Regions from separate parts of the Homo sapiens genome. Here region 2 is linked to region 1. Evidence: promoter capture Hi-C in 16 types of primary human blood cells and fetal thymus (Javierre and others, 2016). All regions are on one chromosome and are shown on one strand. Each heading gives the region's core, a stretch centred on a gene start or on the middle of the fragment in contact. The rest is flanking DNA. Distances are from core to core; before and after follow the strand shown.

Evidence for each region. Contacts are between HindIII fragments. The CHiCAGO score rates a contact against its expected background, and 5 or more counts as called.
Region 2: a contact is called between a fragment that was not itself captured here and the fragment with the promoter of SLC25A47 in region 1, in 1 of 17 cell types (monocytes). The highest score is 6.8, in monocytes.

What each region holds. Positions count from the first base shown.
Region 1 is chr14:100,321,902-100,325,085 of GRCh38, reverse strand. It overlaps SLC25A47 (solute carrier family 25 member 47), which reads right to left and starts at 1,747. Exons shown (of 6, transcript NM_207117.4): 1 at 1,644-1,747. The coding sequence starts at 1,671. The HindIII fragment of the contact is 12,472 bases long and covers 1-3,184 here.
Region 2 is chr14:100,656,301-100,659,375 of GRCh38, reverse strand. LINC00523 (long intergenic non-protein coding RNA 523) reads right to left here and starts at 2,108. Exons shown (of 2, transcript NR_024096.1): 1 at 1,666-2,108. The HindIII fragment of the contact is 938 bases long and covers 1,111-2,048 here.

The DNA of each region.
Region 1 (3,184 bases), core at 498-2,997:
GGTAAAGGCCAATGGAAGAAAATAGGCACATGGGGACTGTACCCTATTCACTGTAGCCCAGGACTCAGTAAATATGTGGGATGAAAGAATGAAGTGAATAAATGTAAGGCAAAAGACCAAGTGGCTTGGAGAGAACGACCCTTCTTAACCCTCCCATACACCTCACACACCTCACCAGGCTCCTACTCATCCATCAAAGCCCTGCCACGACACTACCTCCTCTCTGGAGCCCTCTCTGGCCTCTGTACTCTGGGCTGCCTCTGTGCCTGGAACATGTTGAGCAGAGCCCTTGTCATATGGCCTTGCTGTTGTATGCCACCGCCACCTCCAGAACTGGAGTTCTCCAAGGACACGGCCGAGGGCTGACACCCCATGACCCAGGGCCAGGCACAGAGTGAGAGCCCTTTACCTAGGCCTCCTCATGGCTCCGGAGGAAAGATGCCAGACTCAGGAGCCCTTTCCAGCTGTGTGATGTCAGGCAAGTCCAGTAGCTTCCCTGAGGAAGGGAGCGGCTGGCCCCAGGCTGGCACCTAGCTGGGGCTGAGAAAGGCTGCTAATGGAGGCCGGGCGCAGTGGCTCACGCCTGTAATCCCAGCACTTTGGGAGGCTGAGGCGTGCGGATCGCTTGAGGTCAGGAGTTTGAGACCAGCCTGACCAACATGGTAAAACCCTGCCTCTACTAAAAACCCAAAAATTAGCCAGACATTGTGGTGCATGTCTGTAATCCCAGCTACTTGGGCGGCTGAGGCAGGAGAATCACTTGAACCCAGGAGGCAGAGGTTGCAGTGAGCCAAGATCACGCCAGTGCATTTCAGCCTAGGCGACAGAACAAGACTCCATCTCAAGGGAAAAAAAAAAGAAAAAGCCTGTTAATGGGGCAGGTACTCTGCCTTCTCCCAGGGCCAGAGCTGGGCCGCTCTCCCAACCCCCATGCTGTTTCCAGAAGTACTGACGCCACCCACCGATGTTTCACAAGACCAGCAAGGGCAGGAGTGCCCACTCAGAACAGCCCCCACAGCCCACGGGATGGAGCTGAGCCCGTGTCCCAGGGCCTGGTTATCTCCCTGAATCAGTCTTTCACCAGGAGCCCTTCCCCAGGAGGGAGAACGGTTTCTCCAGCAGAGTCTGGCCTGAGAAGCAGGCTCTGGAGGCCTAGCCAGGTGCACACACCCAGCAGGGCAGGTGGAGCCACCTCGCCAGGCCCCTTACCGTCCTCTGCCCGCCCCTTCCAGTCCCTGCTGCAGGACCAGGCCCATCTTCCCTACCCATCTCCCCACCCTCTCGATCCTCTCCTGGGGTCTTCTTTCCCTTCCAGTGACTCAATCACCCCTCCCCACACCAAGGACTCCCAGCCTCCCTGACTCTGCCTCCCGAGCGGCCCCCATGCCTAGACCACAGCCCCATCCCCAGCCTGCCCTCAGCCTCCTGTCTGAGCCTCCCAGGCCAGTGCAGCCCCCCAGGCCCTGCAGCACCCCTCACCCAGCCTTAGCCTCCCAGGAACCTGCTCTCTGCTCCTGGCAGATCCTGGGGGGTGAGGGGCTCCTCAAAGCCCACCCTGCTGCCCAGCACCTTCCTGGACCTCAGTTCCTCCTGCTACCCCCAGGAGCAGCAGTGTCTGCACAGCCCACCATCCTGTCTGTTACCTCCGATGGCTCCAGCGACAAAATCCATGAACAAGGTGTGGCGGGGAGGCCCTGGGTCTGCCTGCCTGAGAGGGCTTTGGTGCCACCAGGGTGGCCTCAACAGCTCCCAGCTGGCCCCTCTCAGACCTTAAATACCTGCGGCAGGGGAGGGGACCGGAAGCAGAGCCTGCTGAGGCCACGCGGCACACAGCTGGACTCCCTCCCTGCCCCCGGGACCCTTGTCCCAGTGCCCTCGGGACCCAGGTGTCAGGAAAACACAGGAGAGAGCACGGGAGGTGACAGGCACCAGAGAGCAGGGGCACTGCCCCATCACATCCAAACACCTCCTGGGAAGGTCCAGAGATGGGGCTGTGACAGCTCTCGCCCTCCAGGTCCAAGCCCAGGCCTTCACTGTGTCCCCTGGGCTTTCCCGACTCCCCTGGATTTGCTCAGGACCCCTGCCTGGGAAACCTGCAAAGCTCCCTCTCTTACTCACTCAAAAAACACTTACTTTGCTGATGCTACACCCAGGCAAATGAGAGCCAGTCCCTGTCCTCAAGGAGCTCCAGTTGGCAGGGAGGGAGGGGGTGGCAAGGACAGGCCTGAACCCAGGAACAGCACCCACCATCTGCTCTCACCCTTCCCGCTGCCCCGGTTCCCTGCTCTCTGCTCCATGGGAATGTGTCTCCCTGGACCCAGAGGCGAAGGCCAAGGCTGCCTCCACCAAGTCCCCCTGCCCACATGAACCAGGGACAGAGGCTGCCGATTCAGCCTCTGAACCAGCGGCTGGGGCCCTCCTGAAGGGGAAACCTCTCCACTAAGACGCTACTTCTGTCTGCTGGGCACTGTAAAAACAGGGACCTCCTTGCCCGTGCACCCCACCTTACAGTTCACCAAGCTCCCCTCACTCTCAGGCTCTAGGATCCTCCTCACCGCCCCAGGAGGGAGACAGCGCAGCGTTAGTGCTCCCCATTTCACAGATGGGGCCATTGAGGCCCAGAAAGGGGGCTTGTCCAAGGCCACGAGGGCGGCAGGGCTGGATGTGATCCCCAGATGCTCTCATACAACCCACCCTCTGGGATATCCAGGCCCGCCTGGGGAGGCCCCAGAGGGCTCTCAAGGGGACTCAGTGCATGCCCCATGTGACCTGCACTGCATCCTTGTGAGATCTCCACGTGAGACACCAAGGCTCAGGGAGGCTGTGCAGGTACCTCGGCCACACAGCTGCTGAGCAACAGAATCTAAGTGAGTGCCCCACAGACTGGAATGCCAGCAGGATAGGGGAGGGGCAGGTGTTGATGCATGAGGCCCAGGCAGCCCATCTGGGCAGCCCTCGGGACAGGTGGCAAGGCCAGGAGGCTCTTTGTCTACCTGTTTTCCTGTCCTCTAATGGCTGGACCTGCAGGCTGGCCTTGAGCAGGCTGAGAGCTGATGGAGGGACAGCCCCCCTGCCAGCCCGGCTATTTATAGGCAAGTGGGAGACACAGGATGAGCAGTGCCAGCTGCCACGGCAGAGGGCAAAGGGCGGGAAGTGGCCCATCCAAGGCCAGTCCCAATGCTAG
Region 2 (3,075 bases), core at 330-2,829, 330 kb before region 1:
TCGTTTTATTCTCCCAAGAAGACCCTGCGGTGGGCAGAGCAAGACTTTTAGCCCCATCTCCCTAGCGGGAGAACTGAGGAGTCACGGCAGTGCCCTGGCCCCAGCTAGCAGAAGTCTGGCAAGCTCCAGGGATTTCGAATCCTCTTGGGAATTCTCGCAGGAGCCAGTCCCCTTTTTGCCAAGTGACTCCCACACAGACCCATCAAACTTTGCAGGTCCCCATGGGGGAGCAAACTTTGCAGGTCCCCTGCAACTGGACGGGGACAGCCCTGAGTGGTGAAGCGGGGCTCTGTGGCATATCCCCCGGCAAGGAGCCCCCCTGGCCACACCCACTGTCCAGGGATGCTGCCCCCAGCCAGACCCTCAGCCTCCTAGTCCTGGACCGAGACAGGGTGGGCTCGGGCCACACATGAGACCTCCCGTATATGTCCTGGGCTAGCACAACTGCTGGGTTGGCCAGCACTGGGCTAGGTCTGACCCCAAGATGGAATAAACAAAGGAAAATCCATGACAACTGGACTTAGCTCAGGGTGGGCCCTGCCCTGACATCCTCTCATCCCGCAGAGCTGCCCACACACTCAGGGGCATGGAGGAGCCACAGGCTGGCCAGGGGCCCAGCACCCTGGAGGACACAGAGAGGCACGGAAGTCACCTGGGCTGGAGGGGAGGAGTCAAGGCAGCCCTCCCAGGGACAAGGCCCTTCCGGCTGCAGCTGCAGAGAGGGAGGGAGGAGGAGGAGCAGGTCTGCCCTCTGTTCTGACACCAGGGGCCTTCTGGAGCTCCCCCAATGCTGCTCTCCCCATGCTCCTCCTCCCCTCCATGGCCTAGCCACCTCCCCTTTGCCCTCCTGGCTGCAGCCTCTGCTCCCCTCCCCATCCCACTTGCCTGAGCCAGCGCCACCTGGCCACATCCTGTATCTGCCCTCACTGCCACTCCCCAGGGCCCCTAGTAGCCCCCTGCTGTCCACAGGGACAGTCCCACCCCTCCCCACCGGGAACAGAGCCCAGCACCATGTGGCCCCTCAGGCTGTCCAGCTCCAGGACTCCTGTCCTGGCCACACCCTGCACTGTGGCCCCAGGTGCTTGGGGGCGTTCCCTGCACCTCCAAGCTTTAGCCACAGGTGCATCCTCCTGCTGGAAGGTTCTCCCTCCCCTCCCCACCTACTGTTCTTGCCCCAAGACTGGTCTTCATAGCCCGTCTCTGGGGCCTCTCCCCATTCCCTGGCTCATCCACAGTGAACCCCTCCTGGCTTGTCCAGACCCCACCTCACCTGGACCACAGCTTGTCACAGTTGGCCTGCATGCCAGACAGTGGCTCCTCGGGGCAATGACAGCATCTTTCTTTTCTTGAGCTTCTCTGAGGCCAGCCCAAGACACAGTTCAACCCGTGTTTGTTGAATGAATAAATGACCTACAATGGGGCCTTACCCTTTCACACCCAGGACAAAGTCATTTGCTCCCTCCAGGTTTACTTTGCTTTACTTTGCTAAACCACCACGCTTGCTCTCCTCTGCTTCACTCTTGCCTCCCACTGCCCACACCGAGTGTCCACCTTAAAGGGAACCCCAGAGCCAATGAGGGAGGCATGAAATCCTGACTTCCGACTCCTCCCCACCTGAGCTCCTCCCACTGGAACCTCCTGATGGGGCAGAAGGTTCAGGCTCACCTGAGCTGGGACCTGCCTGTGCTCCTAAGGGCATGGCCTTTCCGGCAGTTGGCTCCAAGTCACTTTGGAGAGACATTAGCATCCAGGCTCCTCTGACCCTCGAACGGGAGTTGCTTTTTGCGCCTCCCGGCAGGGAGCCCCCAGTGTCCTTGTCTTCTGGTGTCACCTGCTTCACAGCACGTCTCCCAAAATGCTTCAGAGCATTTCCATTTTTCCACGAAAGAAATGACCCGTTTCCTGGGCTCCTTTCTCCTCTGTGCCTCTGTGGCAGAGAGAGCTGCCTTTGTCGTAAAATAATTTCGGGCGCTTGCCTCTCTCTCACGCACAACTGTTCAAGGCTCTTTCCTCCGACTGACTTTCATGTCGCAAAACTCTATTAAGCTTTCATCTGCCTGGGGGAGCCGTGCCTTGAGGAACCAGGGAAGGGAAGGAGTGCTCCGGACAGTGCGCAGGGGATATGTAAATGGGTGCAGAACCCAGAGCCTGCCTCTGCCCTCCAGTCCACCCACCCGTCTCCAAGCGAGAACCGCCCTGCCTCGCGCTCCCCCGCCTGTTCTGGAAAGGGCGGTGTGAGGCAGGCAGGGCAGAGCCACCCTGAAATCCTCATCTGGATTTTTTGTTCATTCCAGTGGCAAAGAAGCTCACTCCCAGGAAACCGGGTGCATTCGAGGAAGGTGCTTTGGTGGAAAGAGCACTGGGGCAGGAGTCCAGGCCTGGGTTCGAGTGACAGCGGGTGCTGATTCCTCAGGGTTTCCACACTTCCTGGCAGGGAGGGCCTGGCTGCGTTGCCGTCTCTAATATTTGCCTAATATAGAATGGACCACTTGCTGGGACTCCACACATGTCTGAATATCCACCGCCGCAGGATTTTGTATTCCTTCTCTCTAAGAGGAACCCCCTAACTGTGTATGCTGAGATGCCACCAGGCTGGACGTCCCCATCAGAGCTGCCACATCTCCCTGCCGTGTGGCCCTGGGTGAGCCACCTTCTCTGTGTGCCTCAGTCTCCCAACTGTGTTTCCTCAGTGTTGTGAGGACTGAGTTCCATCGCAAACCACTCTCGCATGTGCCAATGGAGTGTTATGGTTTCCAAATACATGCACCCATCATGGGCTCTAATTCCCACCAAAAAAAAAAAAAAAAGCTCTGAGGTTTTCACCAGTGAGCCAGCTGATAGCAGCCAAACCAGAGCTGGGTTCAGGGTAACCAGCCTCCAACCATTTCAAAGCAGCCTTCGGACCTAACTTTCCATTTCCTCTGGGCAGCTGCTGTCCTCCAAGACTCCAGCTGGGGAAGAGAACAGCCCCATCTTCTTTCTCCACCTCTCAGCCGTGAGCTGGCTGTTCACAAATCACTCACTCTTCATTCTCACAGCAACCCTCACCAAAGCCCCGTGTCACAGATGAGGAAA